Linked DNA regions of Homo sapiens: regions 2, 3, 4, 5, 6 and 7 are each linked to region 1. Evidence: promoter capture Hi-C in 16 types of primary human blood cells and fetal thymus (Javierre and others, 2016). All regions are on one chromosome and are shown on one strand. The core of a region is centred on a gene start or on the middle of the fragment in contact, and the rest is flanking DNA. Distances in the headings are between cores, read along the strand shown. Region 1 holds the start of BARD1 (BRCA1 associated RING domain 1). Region 2 has its middle 54 kb from the start of LINC01878. Region 3 has its middle 59 kb from the start of MIR4776-1. Region 4 overlaps LOC102725082 (a long non-coding RNA gene). Region 5 overlaps IKZF2 (IKAROS family zinc finger 2). Region 6 overlaps IKZF2 (IKAROS family zinc finger 2). Region 7 overlaps IKZF2 (IKAROS family zinc finger 2).

Evidence for each region. The method cuts DNA at HindIII sites, captures the fragments that hold promoters and counts their contacts. A CHiCAGO score of 5 or more calls a contact.
Region 2: a fragment that was not itself captured here is called in contact with the fragment with the promoter of BARD1 in region 1 in 1 of 17 cell types (fetal thymus); the score reaches 5.1 in fetal thymus.
Region 3: a fragment that was not itself captured here is called in contact with the fragment with the promoter of BARD1 in region 1 in 1 of 17 cell types (fetal thymus); the score reaches 6.3 in fetal thymus.
Region 4: a contact is called between a fragment that was not itself captured here and the fragment with the promoter of BARD1 in region 1, in 1 of 17 cell types (erythroblasts). The highest score is 5.3, in erythroblasts.
Region 5: a contact is called between a fragment that was not itself captured here and the fragment with the promoter of BARD1 in region 1, in 1 of 17 cell types (naive B cells). The highest score is 5.9, in naive B cells.
Region 6: a contact is called between a fragment that was not itself captured here and the fragment with the promoter of BARD1 in region 1, in 1 of 17 cell types (total B cells). The highest score is 8.4, in total B cells.
Region 7: a fragment that was not itself captured here is called in contact with the fragment with the promoter of BARD1 in region 1 in 2 of 17 cell types (total B cells and fetal thymus); the score reaches 7.4 in total B cells.

What each region holds. Positions count from the first base shown.
Region 1 is chr2:214,807,899-214,811,138 of GRCh38, reverse strand. BARD1 (BRCA1 associated RING domain 1) reads left to right here and starts at 1,456. Exons shown (of 11, transcript NM_000465.4): 1 at 1,456-1,727. The coding sequence starts at 1,570. It overlaps SNHG31 (small nucleolar RNA host gene 31), which reads right to left and starts at 910. Exons shown (of 4, transcript NR_110292.1): 1 at 707-910. RefSeq lists a silencer at 978-1,547 and enhancers at 2,098-2,177, 2,468-2,517. The HindIII fragment of the contact is 4,673 bases long and covers 729-3,240 here.
Region 2 is chr2:212,847,861-212,851,100 of GRCh38, reverse strand. No RefSeq gene overlaps it. Among named protein-coding and RNA genes, the nearest start is that of LINC01878, 54 kb to the right of the region's middle. The HindIII fragment of the contact is 1,173 bases long and covers 1,151-2,323 here.
Region 3 is chr2:212,865,644-212,868,883 of GRCh38, reverse strand. No RefSeq gene overlaps it. Among named protein-coding and RNA genes, the nearest start is that of MIR4776-1, 59 kb to the left of the region's middle. The HindIII fragment of the contact is 2,829 bases long and covers 229-3,057 here.
Region 4 is chr2:212,978,489-212,981,728 of GRCh38, reverse strand. LOC102725082 (a long non-coding RNA gene) reads left to right here. Exons shown (of 4, transcript XR_007088066.1): 1 at 1-3,240. Among named protein-coding and RNA genes, the nearest start is that of MIR4776-2, 54 kb to the right of the region's middle. RefSeq lists a silencer at 497-697. The HindIII fragment of the contact is 3,660 bases long and covers 1-3,240 here.
Region 5 is chr2:212,998,137-213,001,376 of GRCh38, reverse strand. It overlaps IKZF2 (IKAROS family zinc finger 2), which reads left to right. Exons shown (of 9, transcript NM_001387220.1): 9 at 1-1,679. Among named protein-coding and RNA genes, the nearest start is that of MIR4776-2, 73 kb to the right of the region's middle. The HindIII fragment of the contact is 4,483 bases long and covers 1-3,240 here.
Region 6 is chr2:213,016,337-213,019,576 of GRCh38, reverse strand. All of the region lies in intron 7 of IKZF2 (IKAROS family zinc finger 2), which reads left to right. Among named protein-coding and RNA genes, the nearest start is that of MIR4776-2, 92 kb to the right of the region's middle. The HindIII fragment of the contact is 190 bases long and covers 1,420-1,609 here.
Region 7 is chr2:213,034,643-213,037,882 of GRCh38, reverse strand. All of the region lies in intron 6 of IKZF2 (IKAROS family zinc finger 2), which reads left to right. Among named protein-coding and RNA genes, the nearest start is that of MIR4776-2, 110 kb to the right of the region's middle. The HindIII fragment of the contact is 1,689 bases long and covers 733-2,421 here.

The DNA of each region.
Region 1 (3,240 bases), core at 207-2,706:
GAGAGGAGGCCAATTCCAGGTTCCAAAGTGAATCTTTGCGCAAAAGCCATGAGGCAGCAAGGTGCAGGGGCTTTTAATGACCTAAGGGAACGCACTGTGGGGTTGGGACCATGATGGCCAGAGGAGGTTTTGACAAGAGGCTAGTCAAAGAGCAGAGAAAAACTTTAAGGAGTTTTAAGAAAGGGAAGTGCCACGATGAGTTTTGTGTTTGGAAATGTTTTAGGCGGCCACACCGCAGTCTCGGGACTGGCTGGGACCTGGATAGACACTTGGATATCAGCTAGAAAGCTACGACAGGAAACCAGGCGAGGACGAGGCAACTGGGGATGTTGTGGAGCAGAGACGGAGAGAAAATGGGTGCATTCGAGACAAGTTAGGGGGAAAAAATGCAAGGACTTGGAAATGAACTTGGGGCGCGGCAGGAAGGCATGACGGGTTGCTCTGTAGGTCTTATCTGTAAATTACGGCGATCAGTGAAAGATCTGGAGGAGGAAGGTGGACACACTCTCTAACAAAAAAAACCCTTTTTGAAATTTTATACCAATATTTTAAAAGTAAACCAGATCTTTTCAGACATGCCTTTGAGCTGATATTTGTTAACTAGTTAGAATTAGAAACTTTCCTTATTTTTACTCAGTTACAATATACGCCACAGCTGAGGTGAGAGGAAAGAAAAGGTTGCTTTCTTAGGAACAAAGAGTGGTACCTTCAGTATCGTGGGCAAAGCTTTTCCAAGTCCAACAGCAGTCAAAACAGCGCTTTTTATAAATAACACTCAGCTAAAAGTTTCTGGGTTTGTGATTGTTCCAACGGTTAAGCTCGGATGAGGGTCCCTGGAGTCGTAGCTCCCGGGAAACGTCGACTGGCTTTCCACCTGGACTTCATCCGTCCAGGCAGCCCAGAGGGGCTTCAGGCCCCGCCCGCTCTCCTGCCAACTACAGCCTCGCGACTGCGCTCAGCCTTCAGGCCCCGCCCCTTCGGTCAAGCGGCGTGCTCTCACTGCACGGCGCCTGGGCCCCGCGCGCCGGGACCTCGGTTTCAGCCGTCCTGTCCTGCCCCGAGGCCCCTAGGCCCCGCCCCTGGGCCCCGCGCGCCAGGACTTCGGTTTCGACCGTCCTGTCCCGCCCCGAGGCTCCTAGGCCCCGCCCCCTCTGTCCCCGGCGTGTTCTCGCGGCTCCGCCCCTAGGACCCGCGCGCCGGGACTTTGGCAAGTTTCAGCCGTCCGGCCCCGCCCCCTCGGTCCCACGGCTCTCGCGGCCCCTCCCCTAAGTCCCACACGCCGGGACTTTGGCAAGTTTCAGCCTCCAGCCCCACCCCTAGGTCCCGCCCACTCGGCCAGCGGCTGGCTCTCGCGGCCCCGCCCCTGTGCCCTGCGAGTCCCTATTTTGGGAGCATTGCGGCCGCCGTGCCCCGCCCCTCCCCGCGCGCCCCGCCCCTCTGGCGGCCCGCCGTCCCAGACGCGGGAAGAGCTTGGCCGGTTTCGAGTCGCTGGCCTGCAGCTTCCCTGTGGTTTCCCGAGGCTTCCTTGCTTCCCGCTCTGCGAGGAGCCTTTCATCCGAAGGCGGGACGATGCCGGATAATCGGCAGCCGAGGAACCGGCAGCCGAGGATCCGCTCCGGGAACGAGCCTCGTTCCGCGCCCGCCATGGAACCGGATGGTCGCGGTGCCTGGGCCCACAGTCGCGCCGCGCTCGACCGCCTGGAGAAGCTGCTGCGCTGCTCGCGTTGGTAAAGACGGAGCTTCTTGGGGGTGGCTGCGAGGGCACGGGTCGCACAGTTTCTGGGGGCGGCAGAATCTTTTCAAATCTTCCGTTTCCTCCTTCCGTTCCCGCGCTGCAGTCGGGTCGGCGTGCGGTTAGCACCTGCCGGGGGATATAGTATTAACAACTTCTGCTTCTCATTCACTTTATTTTTGGGCGACTTACCGGCCTCCCCTTGCCCTGAATCCAACTGAAACGGTAGTTTTTGAACTTCAGCGGGCTGAAGAACCGTCTGGAGGTGTGGCTAAAAAAATGTTCATCCCGGTCGCGCCTCCAGAGTTTGAATCGGGCTGGGGTGGGGCTGAGGCTTCTGCATTTTTTACCCGGCCCTGGATTACCCCGCTGCTTTCCGGGAGCTGTGGCGAATTGGGCTGGCGGGCCGCCCCGGAGACCCTCTAAATTAGAAGCAGCTGCCACTCTAAGTTAAACTGGCCTTTTTGACATTTTCTCCGTGCCAGCTTTTTCGAGTGAGATGGGATGGAGCATCGGATATCTACCATAGTTGTAGATTGAAGATGGCACGGAATTTCTCATTTTCTTAGTTTGCTCAAAAGACTGTATGTCTGGTGTCCCCGCTCTTAGTGATGCTGTTTATTGTTTTCCTTCATGCTGTCACATTATGGGAGTCCTCTCAGGGTTTTCATTCCGTCCAAAGACATTTTCATGAGTGTTACTTCTTGCTTTTTTTCGTGTAGCTCTTTCTAGTATACAAACCAAGAAGGTTTGTAAAACCCAAGAAAGGTTTGTCTCATTTTCATTTCTTCTGAAAAGCATTTTTATTGAGCACTTGCTGTGTGTACAGCTAAGTATTTCTGTATGAAGATCACTGGCAGTTTTTTTGTTATTTGTAGCTGTCAAAAGTTTATATCCTTTTTGGACTTTTTTCCCCTTTGATTTCTAACTTGCAGAACTTAAGTTACCTAGTTGCATAAAGTATAAGTAACACAACTTTTTCTTTTCTTTCCTTTTTTGAGACGGAGTCTCGCTCTGTCGCCCAGGCTGGAGTGCAGTGGCACGATCTTGTCTCACTGCAAGCTCCGCCTCCCGGGTTCACGCCATTCTCCTGCTTCAGCCTCCCAAGTAGCTGGGACTGCAGGCGCCCGCCATCATGCCCGGCTAATTTTTTGTATTTTTAGTACAGATGGGGTTTCACCGTGTTAGCCAGGATGGTCTCCGTCTCCTGACCTCGTGATCCGCCCGCCTCTGCCTCCCAAAGTGCTGGGATTACAGGCGTGAGCCACGGTGCCCGGCCAAACTTTTTCTTTAAAAATGAAAAGGACTTAACTGTCAGAGTTTTGCACTTATATTTTCTTTGACGAAAACTTTTAATATCTGTGACAAAATGACATTGCACTTCTTAGAAAAGTGACACTCAGATAAGTGAGTACATGAAGACATTTGAGTTGTGTGTTTGTTTTCCTGTAGCACATGGGTCATCTGAGAATAGGAAATTTAAAACTGGCACTGCTAGTTGCAATAAC
Region 2 (3,240 bases), core at 488-2,987, 2.0 Mb after region 1:
AGGAAATTTTTCTCTCTTCTTAAAATTTTGTGTCTCCTAATAACATTGTATCTGTGTTGTTATAGTAGTCTCTTAATTGACTTTCTTGATTCTGGTTTCTCATTGCTTTGATTTGAGCTATACACCTTTGTATAGGAAAAAAACAACTGTTTTTCTCTATATTCACACTCCATGCATCAGTGACCAAATGTGGGATTTTCCCCACACCGAGCAATTCTCCAATTCTCTGCAGACACCAACTCTATGTCTTATAATCCAATTCAATTCTGACACCAACCAGAGTTAGCACAGACCCTATGGTTTACGAACTCAGTTTCACAAGACTTTCTTCTACTCTTCAGGTGCCAACTGCAGTTAGTAAGTCCCCAGGTTACCTACGACTTCTATCTGACTTGGCTACAAATTGGATGTTCCCATGACCCTCTCCTCAGATTTGATAATTTGCCAGAGCATCATTTCACAGAACCCAGGAAAACAGTTTACTTACTAGTGTTAATTTATTGCAAAGGGTATTTTAAGGATACAGTTAAACAGCCAGAGGAAGAGATATTTAGGTCAAGGTCTGGAAGGGCCCCAAACATAGAAGCCTCTGTGCCACACTCTCCCAGCAGGCAGATGTGTTCTCCAACATGTAAGCTCTCTGAACCCCATAGTTTAGTGATTTCTATGTCGACTTCATCACATAGGCATGTTTGATTTTTAATCTCCAGCCCTTCTCTTCTTCCCAGAGGTTCGGGTGCAAGAGCTGAATGTTTCAAGCTTCTAATTATAGTTTGGTGTTTCTGGTGATCAGCCCATATCTAGGAGCCCACAAAAATTGCCTCATTATAATAAATGATGCTCCTATCAACCAAAAAATCCTAAAGGATAGAAGCTCTGTGTCAGGAACCGGGTCAAAGACCAAATATTAGGACAAAAGATACATCCAGCACCCCTACTGGTCAGGAAATTACAAAGGTTTTAGACACTGTATGCCAGAAGCCAGGGGCAGAGACCAAACATTTAATTTTTGTTATGTCACAAGCTTACCAGATAAATCTTCCTGAATCGGAATTTGATTCATATTCTCCAGCTGGCCCTATCCTTAGCCTTCCTGGCCTCTCAAGCTTTAATGGACCTTCCATTGCTCATTGATTCAAGTCCAAAAGCTTAAACTTCTTGACCTTTGCAATCTGTCCCCATCTATTCCTCAAATCATTTGTTCTTCAGTAGCAATAATATTTCTGTTGATCTTCATGATTTTCTGCACTGTTTTTGTGTCCTGAATTGAGTTCTATTAACCCCTCATCTTCATTTTATTTGCTTGTTTATTTAGTAAGTAAATAGTTTTCAACATCTCCTGTAGTTCTAACAGGAGGTAAGTGATTCCCACTTGATAATTTACCTGCCTTACAGGTAATGCATTCTTTGTCTACCCCAAACACAAGCTGCTCCATCTCCACACCCAACTCCCAAACATGACAGTTTCCTGAAGGTAAATGTGACCTTGCTCATAAAAGTGCACTTCTTTTTATTTATAAAAATATTTTTTTATAAGAGACTATGCTCTACTAGTACTTTTTGGTCAACTTTTTTTTTTTTTTTTTTTTTCCTTTCTTTAACATAGGCTTTCTGGGCGGGTAATCTGTGAGGCAGACAAGCATGTCACTACCTTCTTACAGAAATTACTGCACACATAGTGAATGGTATACTCTGGGGCCTCTCCTGGCTTCTTACCCTTTCTGCTTGCACAATAGTTCAGTCTCTACTTTCCTAAGTATGAAAGAACTTCCTTATGTGTGCATGTATTTGATGCCCAAGGCCCTATTCTTTAGCTAGAATTTTAAAGCTGGCTCATGCTTCTGTGTTATGTGAAGAAATAATTAAGGATGCACCTACGAGGATTTTGTACTCTGCAGGGTCCGGAAAGAAAGGAAGTGCTCTGATGGAAGCCCTCCTGGGTCTGGACACCTTTCATTGCACCAAGGCTGTTGTCCTCCAAGAGTTTTATATTAAACTTTCTTTTATCCAGCTCCGCTGGTTGCTTTTCTAATCATCTGAGTTTTAATAAATATAATTTCCCTTGTTTGTTCTGCCTGTAAAATACATTTTTAACAATTGTTTGAATTTTACACTTAAATATTTATTTTGGCCTAATTCTTTCTACTAAATTTTAAACATTGTTTAAATTATCACCTTTTCTAGAAATTACATGTAGCTTCCTGAGAATTTTAAAAGAGAATAAGAACAAAGTAAATATGAACTAATTTGCAAAACACCAGTTGATATTGTAACTTTTTATGCATAAGTGTCTTTTTCTTCCTTTCTAACATGATTGAAAGCTTCATGTGGGTAATCACCAATCATATTTTATATATTTTTTTGTATCCATCACTAGCACCTAATAGGGCCATGGAGATAGTAGACACTCAGTAAATATTTGTTGGCTTTTTGGTTCAGAAACACAATCAACCAGTGTTTTGAAAATGGACTTTTCATAACCTTCAGCTTCAAATAAATCATACTAATTTATTGATCTTAGAATTTAACCAAACCTCATTTTTTTTATTGCTTCCTAGAACAAACTTTTGGTTCTCTCCAACTCTCCAAATTTGAATGAAATTCTGTTGGTTTGATCTTGACTGTTATCTAGATCTCCACATGTTAATAGGAACGAAGTGTTAACTTGCCCGAATTATGAATGATTTCATCTAGTACCATACAGCTAGGAAATCATGAATAATCTTGTCCCTTGAATTTATAATAAATACATTTCAACTATCTTCTATATAGAGGCTTATCTGCAATTTTTAGAGATCAGACTAAAGCTACAGGCTCTTTGGGGTGTATCTGTGTACTTTTAAAATGTTTGATTAGGGAAGTTACTCAAAAAATGTATCTCTTTGCTAATAAATAAAAGTATAATAATGAATCCTGAAGGGAAAAATTGGAGATGAATTTAGAATGTTGTATATGCAATTGAAATTTTGAGTTAATAATTTAGGTAATATTTTAAGGCAAATCACTTGAAAAGTCCACATGAAATCCATGTCAAATAATTGTTAGGAAATAGAAAATGTATGTTAATATGCATGACATCTTCATGAAACCAAGTCATTTTTTTCTGATCTACTCTGAGCTTCAGAATGGGGACAAGATTTAAACTTCAGAATCTGAAGAAGCTTTTTAAAAAGCAAAAAAAGTTTGCATGAAAATTTTATTTAACTTAAAGTTCAATCAATATGAAATAATATTCATTGC
Region 3 (3,240 bases), core at 394-2,893, 1.9 Mb after region 1:
CCTTCATATGGCTTTCAAGGATATCAGTGATGTCTCCGGCCAAGTGTCCAGCCTCAATTCTTAGGCCCTGCTCCTCCCAATAGTTGGATCTTTAACTTCCAGCCATTTAAATTATGCAAAGCTCCCTTACTGTGCCATGATTTTTACCCTCTGAAGTTGCATCTGCCTTTCCTTCTATCTAGGACCCTCTCCTCCTGCATTTCCAGAAAATTCTTGCTTTTATAAGCTTCAATTCAAAAGTTTTTTCCTATGAAACCTTCATTATCATTGAAGGTCTTTAATTCATTTACTCATTCACTTTTGTTTTTGTTCAATTTTATTGAGTCCTGATTATGCACTGGGCCCATAAATGCTCCTTCTGTTCTGTTCCCACTAAACTTTTCTATTCAGTTATAACAGTGTTCTTATTATGCCATAATTTGTGTTTTTTTTTCCTGTCTTCTTTTTAAAAATACTTAAAGACCTTTAAGGACAAGAGCTATATCTTTTAATCAAATCCTCACAGCTTAGACTAGTGCCTGGCACATAATAGGTACATATTCAATAAGTAATTGAATGTGTGAACTTACCTAGAAGAGTAGGAAAAATTAAAGAGGCACTTGGGTTGGGATTATTCTAATAGGGGTTACCTATGCTATGCTCCTGCCAAGACCCAACCCTGTATACTCTTTGCCTGTTCCTCTGTAGAGAAGCACTGAGCAATCATACTGAGTAGTTGTTGTTTTGTCCTCTTCCTTCCATGTGAGATAGCTCTTCATTTCATCTGATTGGTACTGCCCACTTAACACTCAGAACAGTAGAGGAGCTAGTTGTCTAGAATCCTTATTAGTAAAGAGAAACTTGGGATGAAATAATATCAGAAGATACTCAGTAGTAGTTGTGCAGATCCAGATAACTTTTGAGAACCATTTTTCTCTTCCCATTTTTGGGAAAATAAGATTCATGCCACTTTTTGCATTGTTACTTTGCCTTCCCACAGCCAATAAATAGGTAACTGGTTGCCGTGAGGAGTAACTATTTTCCTGATTAATTGGATGCATTAGGAGATGCTGATGTGTAGTGGGAATCTTAAAACATACTACATATTCCTGTTGCCAAAATATATTCATAGATGGTTTATTTTCTTTATTTTAAAGGAGACTCATGGAATGCTGAAGCACATATGGAACTTTGCACAGTGCTTTCATTCATTTCCAGCTATGTTTATGCACTTTTGTTTTTGTGGTAACATTTGGGTGGCTCCCAAACATAATTATTATACCATTGTTTGAAGTTTTGATTCAAGAATGAATTTGAAAAATAGCTGTAATACCTGGTGCCATTTATATAATATACTAATATGCTCTTATTGTGGCATTCTGGTTAATGAAAAGCATTAAATTAATGTATAAATCAAAGGGAAAAACAAAACTGAAATTACAAGCTCACCATAATGTAATTAAAAGCAGTATGTCTCATATCAAGTTATGGTAAATAGCAAAATTTACCAAGAAGACAATTTACAGCCTTAAATGCCTTTATTGTTAATAAAAACAATTAAAGAGTAAGAGATAGTGACCATCTTAAGAAATGTGCAGAATAACAACAAAAAAGAACAAAAGAATTTAGAGAAAGAGAATTAGTAATATTAAGGTGAAATTAATTTTAAACACTTTAAAAATTAATAGAAAAGACCAACATATCAAAAAATATTTATTTCAAGACTATCAAATAAATTATTTGACTGTTATTAAAAGTGAAAAACAAAATGAAACAAAAAGTGAAAATAAAATTGAGAAAGGAGACATAACTCTAAGTGCAGAATAAACTTAATTAATTATACATTACTAAATACAAATTAATATTCAAAACTTTAAAAGCCAAAGATGTTGATCTCTTAACAAAATGTAAATGACCAAGATTGATTCAAGAAAAAGTGAAAAAAATGGAATGACCCAAATAAATATAATAGAAGCAATAAAAAGATTTGCCATGTAGAAAGGCAACAAAACCAGTTTCACAAATAAGTTCTTTCTGACCTTTACAGAAAATAAAATTTCAAAGATTCTTAAATTCTTCCAAGTAATGAGAAGAAAGTGGAAATCTTTCTAATTCATTTTTAAAGCTAGTATAACATATAGTTTGGACATTTGTCCCCGCCCAAATCTTATGTTGAATTATAATCCCCAATGCTGGAGGTGGGTCCTGGTGGGAGCTGTTTGGATTATGTGGGCAGATCCCCCCGACTTGGTCCTAGCTTCATGATAGTGAGTCCTCATGAGATCTGGTTATTTAAAACTGTGTGGCACCTCCCCTCCACCCCACTTTCTCTCTCTTGCTCCCACTTTTGCCATGTGATGCGCCTGCTCCCCTTCATCTTCCGCCATATTATAAACTTCCTGAGACCTCCCTAAAAGCCAAGCAGATGCCAGAACCATGCTTCCTGTACAGCCTGCAGTACCATGAGTCAATTAAACATATTTTCTTATAAATTACCCAGTCTCAGGTATTTTACAGTAATGTAAGAATGGCCTAATAAAATAGCAACAATGTTAAAGCTGACAAATATACTATAAAAAGAAAAATATAAAATATAGTTTGCAAATATAGATGCAAAAATTCTAAAGAAAATATTTACAAATAGAATCTAGAAATATATTGAAAACTAAGTAGATTTTATTTTAAGAATACAAGGATGGTTCAATATCTGGAAATCAATCAACATCATTTATTACATAATTTTGTTTAAAGGGAACCATATGACTAAACCATTAAATGCTAATAAGTATTTCAGACAATCAAATAGCCATTTCTAACAAAAATATAAGTGAAATAAGAAGGAAACTGCATAAATAAGATATTGGTTTCCCCAAATCCAATATCTAGTGATTATTCTGAGTTGTTAAACAAGAAAAGTATTTCAATTAAAATCAGATATTACACAGGGATACCTGTTATTACCACTGCAACATTGGGAGATTCGAGGGAATGCAATAAGTTAATAAAGTGAAGTAATTGATATAAAGGCTATTGGTGGAAAAATTGTGCATTTGAAAATTCAAATTATATGTAAAAGCTTCTTAGAAAAAATGTGGCATGGTATCTGCATAAGAAACAAATATAAAAAAAGTGTTTTCTTAGAAATAGAAATATGTAATTTCCTCATAATATGACTATTCCTTCACAACAGTAATTAGACCTATAAAAATCTTAAAAATAAACTTAAGATCAACCCCCCAAAATAGAGAAAACTAAAAAAAA
Region 4 (3,240 bases), core at 188-2,687, 1.8 Mb after region 1:
ACCAGCCTGGCCAACATGGCAAAAACCCATCTCAACTAAAAATACAGAAATTAGCCGGGCATGGTGGCGGGGGCCTGTAATCCCAGCTACTCAGGAGGCTGAGGCTGAGGAGAATCACTTGAACCCAGGAGGCGGAGGTTGCAATGAGCCTAGATCATGCCACTGCACTCCAGACTGGGCAATAGAGTGAGAGTCTGTCTCAAAAAAAAAAAAAAAAAGAAAAAAAATCCCCTCATAATCCAACCATTTACATATAAGCATATTGGTATGTATCTTTCTAAAAATTATCATACATATCTAATACATAGGTACATATTGTTTATTCACATATGGAATCATTCTACTCATATGATTTATAACTTTTTTCTAATTAATAATCTGTCATTGTCTTTCCATGTTATTAAATAGTTAACTACATAATTTTCACAGTTGCATAGTATCCCAGTGCATGGATATATAATTTATTTTAATCAATCTCACCAATGAGCATTTTGATTATTCTTATCTGTATTCATTTAACAAACACTCAATTCACTCTTCCTATGTGCCAGGCACTGTAATGAACACATTCTAGACATTGCTCCTGGAGGTCAGGCCAGGTCCAGAGCTAATTATATATAGGGACTGCCTCAGGACCACAGAGAAGATAAGACTCAAGGTACCAGACAATCTATACAGTGGCCAAGATAATAAGAAAAAATATATTGTTTCAAGATGCTTTCTTCCCACCTGTTATTTTTACAAATTTGTTTTGGTATCTAATCATTTGGGCTAAAAATGCCCTGGTTTATTTCTCATAGAGGCTATAAACCCCTAAAGGTTTATGAACTATATTAATCCTATAATGCTTCCTCCTCTGCTAATCATCTTGTGTATTCAACAAACTCTACTTGAACAACTAAGGTCATGAGCAACATAAACCTACCATGATTAAGAATCATTTCAAATAGCTACAAATAATTTTATAGGCTTATTTTTTTAAAAAGATAACCCGTTTCATTTTGAAATTCTGATTTCTTGGTTCTATTATGGACTAAAATTCTAAGGGTAAAAGCAAATAAAATCCCAGGGAAACCTGCTGTTTTTACAGTCATGGCCATAATCAGAACAAATTTTGGTGAACTTAGGACTTTACAAATTTTAATAATTATATTGTAAAACATAATTCTAAATCAGTTGTATCATCAAATCAGAGCAGTAAGAAAGTGGAAGCTGCTATAATTGTAATGTATTTTTAAAAACTTGAAATGAAAACACAACTTTAAAAAGCAAGTCAGAGTATATCGTGCATATGCTTCAGAATAAAGATAAACACACCATTTAAAGAGCTGCTTAAATTAAAATGTCATTTCTTTCAAGTTCTCTGTTAATAGCCCATCCAGTTAGCTATTGTCCTGAAATTTTAGACTTAGGCAATTAGCCTGTTCAGGTCACCTAAACTTTCTAGATATTTAAGTCTCCATATTTGAAAGAAACACAGCCATGTTATCTAAATAGACAAGTCTAGCAATTTCAAAGTTCAGGTAGACATAGAACATAGAAGAGGGAATTATCACTACATTAGTGGTTTGCCACTACTCCATAACTCAGCCCCTGACTTCCCTGTCCCCTTCCTTCAGCCCCGACACCCCTCCACCCCATCCTAGTCTATAGACAAACAAGCTCTCCAATCTAATTCTTATCAAGATAGAAACAAGGCCAGACCTGCTCTTCTAGATAAAATGCCTTGGCTTCTAACTGCCTGGCTGCTTATCTTTCATCTTGCAGTGTTAACCATAACCCCTTTCCTGACCTGCTCTACTTCTTGTTTTCAGATGAGCAGTAAGGACTGGGGGAAAAACATGCTTAAATGAACAAGTTCACTCTCTCACATCCCTCTCCATTCCCTTTAAAGTCAATTCAAAATATCTTTCCAAAATTATCAGAAATCACATTGTGTGCATTACATGTAACTCGGTATATTTCTAAATCTCTCTTTTCCAACTTTTACTCTTTCTACGCTATACTGCCACATATATCTTTTCCTAAAAATTAAAAATGTTATGTTTTTTTTTTTTGGTTGTGGGATTAGGTTTTCTGAGGAATGGTAGGTTTTGTAAGGGTTTTTTTTTTTCCCCTCCTTTTATTTTTTCTCATTTGTTTGCCTAGATCTGAATAAGCTGAATCATCTTCTCACCTAAGCTGTTTGGTTTGGATACCCGAATTTTTTTGCTTTCATCCAAACAAAGTATTGCACTTGTCTTTCCTGAGCAGGTGAAAGTTAATGCAATATAGACCTTGAGCAGTCAGGCAATGTAACTGCTATGTTTGGACTAGCTTGCTGTGTGAGGTTAGCCTTCCTTGACCCTTGTTCCTTATACATGAAGTGGGAAAAAGAAAAATAAGCTAGGTTCCTTCTGTATGTGAGAATCCTAGGAAACTCTATTGTCCTATATTTTGAAGCAGCTATTAAGTTGAATGGTGTGAGATTACACAGGGTGCTTGCTGGTGTTGTAAACACCACGATCTGGTTTATGACACCTTTATCCCACAAACACTCTTGCACTTGAACCTGCATGTCCTTGAAAATATGGGAGTCTTTTCAAAAGAGTTTGAGCTTCTTGTAAGAAAACCATTCTACTAATATAAGGTGTAACTTTTACTTTTTAGCATTTAAAACTAAGTCTACATTACACATCAGAAAATGATCTGATAGATACCCTGTTTTGATTCGGGTCTTCCATTTTATTTTCTTAGCCTAAAAAAGATCGAATCCAGAATTATACGGCTTCTTTTCATTTTTCATTTTCTTCTTGCAAATTAGATTTCTAATTGACCCTTAGAGACCAATTGCTTAACTGTCAAAATATTATCAATATTGGGAAAATAGTGTCACTGAATTTAATTTATAAATACATATGACATGCTTAACTGTGTATGAGGGATTTCCTTAGATACTAATGGGTGAAAAATAAATACCTGCCTTTAAAGAAATGAGTTCTTTGCCAGAATAATGAACTGTGTAATATTTTACCGTTAACATTGACATTCTCATAATATTAATGATTCCATTTTAAGGATACTACATTCTCAAAAAGCAGAACATACATTTCTTAGTTTTATGTCACCCAGTGTCCATAAACAAGGTTCTAAAGTTTATTTTATTATCAAAACAATTGATCTTCAAATATTACTTTCCTTAAAGGAGATTTATATTTAAAAGCAAATATGATGTTTCATTTCTTATCTTTTCTCCAAAAG
Region 5 (3,240 bases), core at 336-2,835, 1.8 Mb after region 1:
ATATCATGAAAGACTAGACAGTTATTTGCAAGTGTTTAGAAAGGTGTTAAAAATGTAAAGCAAAGAGTCTTAACTTTCTCCTAATTGGGAGAAAAATGCTTTAACATTACTATAATAATATTCCAGGTTTGGAGGGGGTCTCCAGGCCCCATATTTGCTGTTAATAGTTGGACCTTTTAGACCATGTGTTATTTGCAATCCCAGAATGATTGCTTCTGCTATTAGTTAAAAAGATACTATTCTTTTCTTTCTGTACAAGTGCAATACTCCCCTTGAAGTCTTAAAAACTATGGTGATTTTTTTTTCTTTTCTGACCTATTCTTCCTTTAGCTAATGACAAAAAGAAACTCATAAAAGTCATAGTATGTTAAAGGACACAACAAGCAAAGAGAAAAACACTCCACAATCAAAAGATTACAGAATGTGGAAACCACTAGTCTGATCTCATGGTATCTTTATTTAAGCTAAATTTCCATGGAAATTAGTAATCTTTTGCTTGAAAAATGTGTCCTAAAGTTGAACTTTTTACAGATTGAATCTTCTTAGACCCTCGCCCAATGCTCTAAATTAAGAACCTAATACTTAATATTTTTATTTTACTTCTCCCCTTTTAGAAATAAACTTTTAAATAAAAGCAAAGCACTTAGCTGAGTTTTAAACACTTACATATCACCTATTGGAGAAATTTTTTTTAAAAATATTTGGAGCAGTCCTGTTTTCATACAAATTTAAGTAAGAGGTATTTTTCTTATACATATTTATATGTAGTGTGCTAATTTTCTTTTTTTATACCTGTGTCCCTGTAGTAAAACTGCTGTAATATAAATACATGTTTTGTTAAAAGATAACATTTCTTTGGCATTTCTTTTAAAGGCAGTTACTGCATTTCTGCATTTGTACAGTATGTGTCTTGGCCATTTTAGATATTCTTTCTTTAACAATACCAAAGGTAATTAGACTATTTTAAAGACTAATTGCTTGACAGTTTCTAGGGTATTTTGTGTTTTAGAAGCAAAAAAAGAAAAAAAAATAGGTCAAACCAGTAAACCTCATTTTTTTTCAAACTAATAATTTGGGGAAATAAAAACTATTGTTTAAAAAAGAAATATATATATATATATATAAATATATATGTAAAGTTAAAATTCCATACCTTGTATGTCAGGTTTGCTAAGTGTAATGTAGTTTTTTTAAGGCTCAAATACCATACCTCAGAAAATGAGGTTTACTATGGAAATACTGAAACAGTCTTTGCAGCTGTGTGACAAGTCACTCTACTACATACTGATTTGGAGACCTCCGCTAAATAGTTTTATCACTGCAGACTAAAATGTGGGACTTGTATCTTCTTTGTTTTTAATGCACACACATACATGTTCTGTGCATGTATGTGGTTACTGTGTATATGTGTATGAGTGTTGTATATGCATGTGTGAGTGTGTGTCTGTATGTGTGTACAACTAAAGAAGCTGCAGAAACTTTGTAATACTTTGTGAAAAGGATTATATTATAAAGGTTTGTACTGTCTGAGTGCACAGCTACTGGAATAAATTTAGGGAATCTCAGGAACAAGCATATAATTTGTCCAAGATTTATTTCTTCTCAGAAGTGTAAGTGCAGTTTTTAATTCTGTATATTATTTAATATTTTACCAATAAAATAAACTTCTGACATAAAAAGTTTGCTATAAAAACTTTCTGGTGAAAATTCTGTACACAAACATGTCTTCCAAATACAGAAGACTAAATTGTTGACTATACCAGGCTTAAATTATCATTGCCATTGTGTATTTGTCACACTTCCAGTTCCAGAGGTTTGGATACATGTGATATCTGCAATCTACATCTCAATCGTTAGTCATCTCCATCATTACTATATAGTCCACCAGAGCAGAAAACAAAGTATTACATGATTTGTTAAGAATGACATCTCTGCTCTTTAGACAGCTTTCATACATATCTTATTTCACTTTTAAAAAAGAGGAGTGTACATCAGAGCCTATCCCCTTTCTATATAAGAAAATAGACCTTAGGAAAGAAAATTGTGACTTACTCCAAAGAGCATAGTAGTGCACTTAAATTACACAAGAGGTCTGAGTGCTCTGATCTGGTCAATAACACTACTAGAATACACTACTGCTATAGAAACCAGTATTTCTTAGAAGTCAAAGATAAAATTAAGAAGTCATAGCGATTGTTCAATCACACTGGCAAAAACTGGTTGCCAGTTCTGCTTCATGTTGTACAATCACTACGTGAGTCATACACATCTCTTTGTTTCTTAGATTTTACAAATGTAATTTATCTTTTGCCATGAGAAGTTTGTTCTGTTATAAACATCTTCATAACCAGAAATGCAAAAGGGCATATATGACTGCAAATTCATTTTATTGAGTGTTAGCTAGCCACTATCCTTCAGGCCAGTTTGAACTCCACCATCACATTTGAGATAGCTGTTAGAGTTTTTCCTCACTGATATGTATTTATAGAATTTCATGGATACTTACCACATTCCCCAGTAATTTCACTTCCATGTGTCACACAGAATGAAAAATACCATAAATTCAAATGAAATTTTCCTGCCTTGACTGTATCATAATTCAAAATACTAACCTAATTTGGGCAGGGGAGGTTGTGAAGCAAGTGAAATAGCAAAGCAAAAAGAAGAAAAACTTACCAAATCATCCTCCAGTATTAAATTTATAAAGGATTCCTTCAAGATCAGCAAGGAATGTCAAATTCCCCTGGTGTATTATATCAACAGGAGCCAAATGAAAAGGATTTCTTGAAAAATGTGCCATATGCTCTTGACTTTTCAATTGCAATATGGTCAGAGAAATTATAAATAATTTAAATCTTGATATGATTGTAAGACTTTTTATCAGCATGCTCAAGCCAGAAGACTGTTCTTGGGGTGTGAACCACATGGTGAAAGCATTTCATCTAGCATTTTAGCAACCCTCCCTCCTGCTATTAGGGGGTTCCAAATGGACCCGTTAAACTTCCAGGAAAATCCCCTTTTTTGTTAACACCCCTACTGAAATTTCCTGGTGTGTTTATTTAACTTCTCACTAGAGGTTCCAGTGAAGGTAACAATTGGTGAATTTGAATTTTCCTACTTTTCTCCTGTTTGGCACAATACCCAAGGGAGAGGTTTCAATAAAATAGCCTAACTGGCAAATGGGAGAAATCGACAAAGAAGACAAACTTATTTGGACATCCATAATCCCGTATAAAAATG
Region 6 (3,240 bases), core at 265-2,764, 1.8 Mb after region 1:
TTTTTCTGGGTTTGTTATAACAATAATTTGAGATTATCCTTAATCTCCTCTATCTGTTGTTAACATGCCTAATGGGAAATTGGCCATACGAGGTAGGAGTTGATAAATACTGTAAGAGAAAAACATGGTTCTGTAAAATGCTGCTAGAGTTCATCATTAACATACGTCTCATATAAATAGCTTGGCATATGTCTCTTTTTAAACAGAACCATGATGAAACTTATATCTATTCCCTTCTCTTGCTGTATGTTATTTATTTGTTTTCCTTTTTTGTGGTAGATATGAGAGTTGCTGTCATTTTGGTTGCCATTAGCTCCATGAAATGATTTAACTATTACTTGTTTTTAAAAAATATCTGACATAGTTATATTTCCTAGTCTTTCTTTTCTAAAACATGTTTTTCCCTGTGTTGTTCTTCTAGTATGGAATTTTTTAAAGGAAAAGAGGCATTTTCACTTTACTCAGAAAACATTTATCAAGAGCTTACTATGTGCCAAGTTATATAGAACATTCTGGGGTATAAAAATAAATGGACCCAGTCTTTTAATACACTTACTTTATAGTCTGGTAGGAAATACATACTTTAAAAAAATAAAATAAAATGAAACAAAAGCTCTAATAAGGATGCATACACAGTTCTCTGGGAACATAGATGTAGAATTAACCTAACTCTGGAAAAGTCAAGAGAGGCTTCTTACATGCAGGAGTGTTCAATCCAAACATGAGGGATGAGTAAAAATTGCATATATCAGGCAGGATACAGAGAATGTATATTCAAGGAGAAAAAGAGGCTTGGAGATATAAAAGATAATTAACAGCTTCCCTGATGTTGAGTGTAACTGCAGTTTAAGGAGTGGTAGGAAATGAAGCTTCTGAATTAGTAGGTTGTGATGCAAAGACAGAGTCTTCTCTGCTAAGCTAGTGTTTGAATTTCATTGTGTAACTGATGGGGGGCCACTAGGGTAACCAAATTTGTTATTAATGAGGTAATCAAATCAAGAAAAATGTCTCCAATGAGGATACATGATAAATGCCTACCTGGGGCAGGGGGTATGGTGTGAGGAGAGACTGGAAATGACAATGCCAAAAAGAAAAAGATGAAGAGGCAACTGCAGAAGAGAACAAGGTGAAATATTGAAGACATATTTAGGAGGTAGAATAAAATGGTCTTAGAAAAGTTGATTGAGTTTGAGGAAAAAGGAGGAATATCATGACTCATAGTTTTGGAAATAATAATTGAGTTTTATGACAGATTATTTATATAATTAAATTATTTAATTGGGTTTGATGAGCTTATTTATTTTATTGGGTTTTAGGGCAGATTATTTATCTTATTTAATTAGGTTTTATGGCAGATTATCTTGTTCAATATTATCTTTATGTTGCTTTTTCAAGTCTGCTTAGCTTGAAGGAAAAGCTTTAAAATCAAACTATGTTATTACCTGTTTTACCTAAACCTAAAGACAAAAATGAAAGTGCAAAGCAGAAGGATAGCCAGCTTAAAATCTATATATATTGTTAGGTTTATGCTTTGAATTGTTTAGGAAAGGGAGGTTCTTTTTCACAGTATAGAGGCATTATTGGGCACCCCCAAACTTTGGAATAAGCTTTTTTGACTTATTTCTATTGGGTGACATCATTCAGTGAACATCCATTGAATATTATATCTCTCTTGTATCATAAAAGGTATTAGAGACACAAATACAACAGAATGCAACCCCTGAGGTTATTTACCAGCTATTGGAAGATAGACCAGTAAAACAACAATTATAGTACTATGTGATAAGCATTATGGAGACAGAGAGGACATACCTAAATCAGCAGAACATCCAAGAGGAATTTCCCGGGATTGAGCTTAGTTTTAAAAAGCAAAAATGTGAACTAATAAATGGAGAAGGGTGTTTCCTGCAGAAAGAACAACATATGTGAACAACTACCAATGTAGCATCTAAAACACTTGGGGTACCTCCATGTGTGTTTGTAAAGAGATGTGGTAGGGAGGAGGAGAGGCAGAAGACTGGATGAAAGGAAGAAATCTAGGATTTTCCACAGGTGACCAGCATGGCTGATGGAGTAAATAGTAGTGTCATTCAGTGATATGGTAATTAGTAGTGTCATTCAGTGATATGGTAATTAGGAAAATAGAAGAAAGAAAGGTAAATGGAGATTTTACTTCTTTTACTATATTCTTTTATGTCTCCATGAAATAGGCAAATAAAACTGTCTAGGAAGATGTTAAATATATAGATCTCAAGCTCTTGAGAGGGGTCTGAGTAGGAAACAAAGATGCAGGATCCATCATAATTTATGTAGTGGCCCAACGTAGTAGTTTTTAATAAGGCAATACGGATAAGTACAGAGTGAGACATCAAGAAGGCCAAGAACACACTAGCAGGAAAAAAATTTCATGAAGATGAGTAAGAGCAGAGTAGGAACATGGAAAGAGTGATTTCACAGAAGCCAAAGCAAGTGTCAGCACTGCCAAATGCTGTCAAGAAAATAACTAAGATAACTGTAAAGTTTTTTTTTTAGATCGGGTAACACGGAGAAAATTTGCAACAATATAGAAGACATCTGTTGTTTTTGCCTGCCTGACATCCCTTCCTCCTTCTCTTGATAACAAGAGTGCCCATTTACCTTTAGAGAACTTTCCTGTTGCATGTAGCTGTGGTGGGACCCTCAGTCCAGGTACTCTGCCCTCTCCTGCTCAGGAGCTAGACATGTGATCTAACCTAGGTCCCTCAGACTTGGAATTTGAATTTGGGTGAACTGTTTGGTTTTTCAAAAGAATACATTGGGAATACACTTATGGTTTTGCCGTTATGGTTATCAACGTGATGAAACAGTGATCTAATGGAATTATGTTTTTATCTTGGTTATAACCTCAAATATAAGGTCAAAGAGGATGTTTGGTTATAAAGTTTGTTCAAACAGGGGAAGTTACCTTATTGGTATATCTTTAGCCCAGATTAATGTCTATGTGATTAATGCATTATTGAGATATCTAGAGAATTTGTTTTATGTTTCTAGCAATGTATACACAGAAATATTTTGATGAGTTGCACCCAGATCCATGAAGCAAAACAAAATCAGATTGGTTACATAATTAAGGAAAAATGTATCAGGTCTTTACCCAATGGCAGACCTTACAAATATGTCTGACTGGTTTACAAAAAGTCAATGCTCAAAATACCTCTACAAAGAGTAGTATAGCGTAATGGTTGAGCCAGGCTCTGGAGC
Region 7 (3,240 bases), core at 328-2,827, 1.8 Mb after region 1:
AAACTGATTGTAGACCTGGCACCTGGCCCACTTTCTGGGTGATCTCCCAAGTGTGAACTTTCCCTACCCTTAGCCCCTCCTTTCCTTCCTGGAGGTGGCTGATAGAGGTGGATTATACTGATAATTACACAAGCAGTGTCAGTTGCACACATGATTTGCATAACTGTGCTGTGCTGATTTCATCCATCAAATTCTGATACTGATGCCTTTGGTGCCTCACTGTATGCTTTGCAATAAACACTGAAGAAAGGAGATGGGATTAATATTTTCATTCTTGACTCTTAAAACACACACTTGAGGTCCTACTCATTGAAATTTACCTAGAAGGTAAAAGCCACTTTCAGTCAGGCCGGCTGTAAGACAGCCCATTTGATTTCCACCAGGTAGAACGCCTCTTTCCCCCTACCCCAGACCAATAACCATTATGTATCTACTCTTCGTTATTGTTTCTAATAAAAGAAAGTAAAACTTTTAATAGCATATACAATCACATCTTTTATGAATTGTAGTAGTCATGCTTCTTTCAGACCCTATTTCTAGAAGGAATTAATAAGCCTTTCTTTTATAATTCTATGCAGCTCTTTTCACTTTGGTGCAAGTCATTTAGAAGATCAATTTATTGTAGGAAGCTTTCCTTCCTCCTTTATTATCAGGAGTTCTAAAGAAATGGACAAGATTCTTAGCTGCTTTCTCATTGTTCTGAATAATCTACACTGTCCTCATTCCAAAGCTTGCTACCACAGTTTTGTACCCTGCATGGATTTAGTGTGGACAGTCTTAACTTTGGCCATTTCACATTTTCCCTTCCACACCATGAGTCTGCAGGCCTGGCATGTTTGGAACTCCACAACAGAAGTGGAGAGGCTGCACGCAAACTTTATTACTCACCTAGTATCCAGAAGGGCATGACACACTGGGACTTGTGTGTGTGTGTGTGTGGTGTGTTTTGTTTGGATGTTTTTTTCTAACCTAACCTTTACCATTTCTTTCAATTTTTCCTACTTGATCTGTGTATGTGAGTCAAAGAAACCTGTTCATCCACAGCCTATACTATCTTGCCAAATACTGTAAGAAAACTCTCAAATGGTAGAAAATCAGACAAATAAGAAAGATAAAAACCAAGTATCATTCATCATAAGCATGTAAAATATATTTAGAATATAATTAAAGTTTTATGTAAGGTATCAGAAATCTATCAGAGTGGAGTCCTTTTAAATTGTATAGAAATATGATGATAATGATTATAAGCAACTGGATAAGAATAAAAGGTCCTAGATCCAGCATCTCAAAGAAGAGATTTTGCATCTTCATCCCTTATATACCATATTGATTGAATGAATTAATGGACAGATTATTTTATTTGAATATTCTTATATTAACTAGAAAGGTTTTAAAGATTCATGGAGGTCAATGGTGGTTGAGTATGTTTCCTAGTACATGATAAGTATTAGTCTATTACAAAAATTAAAAATTATGGGTATATTTAATAAGTTCTTATTTTGTGACAAGCATTATGTTAAGGGCCTTATTTTGCAGATAAGTAGAGTCAAGTTTAAAGAAAGAGATGTTACCTAATGTCCTCACGCAGTCATTTTACATATTACATGTATGCCTCCTCAGCTTATACAGATTATACTTTCACCTTATTTTTCTTTTATTTTCCATGGTTTGGCAACAATGTATTATTGGATTAGATTTCAAACACACACATACACACCCACAGCACAATAAAACAAGAATTGTATCATGCTCTTATAAACAAAAATCTATCATGAGGCTTGAAGACATATAGCAGCTTAGAACAAAATAAATCTAACAATAGTATAAATTATATTTGTGAGAGTACTTTAAAAATTATGATCTGATATAGCAAAAAAAATCATACCTTGATAACTATATGTTTACATTTTATCCAACTTCCAATATACTCATGAAAGCTGAGATATAAGCTCTGGTCTGTCTGAATCTAGGGTCTCTGCTCTCAGCCACTATACTCCTGCTTCCCAATCTATTCTCCAGATAGCAACCAGAATGTTACTTTAAAATCTGATTTAAACCATGTCACTCCTCTTCTTAAAATATTTTAATGGTTTTCCATTGCTTTTATAATAAAATCAAACTACTAATCATGGCCATTGGTGGTTCTGCCCACTTCTACTGTCTGATCTTCTACTACTTTACGCCTCACTCTGGGTTCTTTGCAACCCGAGGTTTCTTTATTCTTTCCTACTGTTTTTGAACTAATGGATGATCCTAGAAGTCAACACCTTCAGCGTTTTCCCAAGATCTTGGCATAGTTGCCTTATTATCTTTCAGATGTTAGTTTAAATGTCATCTCTTTGAAAATAGTGGCATCCATAAGCAACCTACCAGAAGCATCCCCTTAGTTCTATTTTGCTATCTCTATCTTAATAAAAAGCTTGAATCAGAATCTGTGGTTATGTTGGTGTTTAGTTTATACACATGTTGTCTGTGCCATCCCACCTCACTCGAATGTAAGCTCTGTGAGATTGTGGACTGCAAGACTGTCTTTGTGGAGCTTACATTTTAATAAGGGGAGACGGGCAAGAATCAGTTAAAAAATCATATAATATGTTAGAAGATGTTGACTGCTACAGGGAAAAAAAAAGATTTTCCACTTATTGATCATTTATTGTGTGTTAAGTACCTTGAGTTTTCCATATGGATTAAAAAAAATATATACTCACAGAAATGCTGTGAGTTAGGTACAACTATTTCCTAATTTAACGTAACCTAGGCTTCACACACAACTGGCATTAGGGTTAGAATTTGAGATCCAAGTAAGAAACCACATTCTGGATATACAAATACATATTCTTTATATGAATATTCCATAAGTTAGAGCAAGCTATTTGCTTCTGAATTGATTATTTTGGGAGCTGTTTGCTATCCAAATTATTTGCTTACTCATAAGCCTGAGTTCTTGTAATATAGAAAGTCAGATGAAAGGAAATACAAGCATAACTTCCTTTATTGTGCCTTACTTTATTGCACTTCACAGATAACTGCGTTTTTTACAAATTGAAAGTTTGTGGTAACCCTAATTCCAAGCAAGTCGGTTGATACCATTTTTCCAATGACACATGCTCACCTCATGTCTCTCTGTCACATTTAAATAATTCTTGCAATATTTCACATTTGCTCATTATTATGTCTGTTTTGTGATCTGTGATCTTTCTTGTTATTATTATAACTGTTTTAGGATACCACGAACCACAC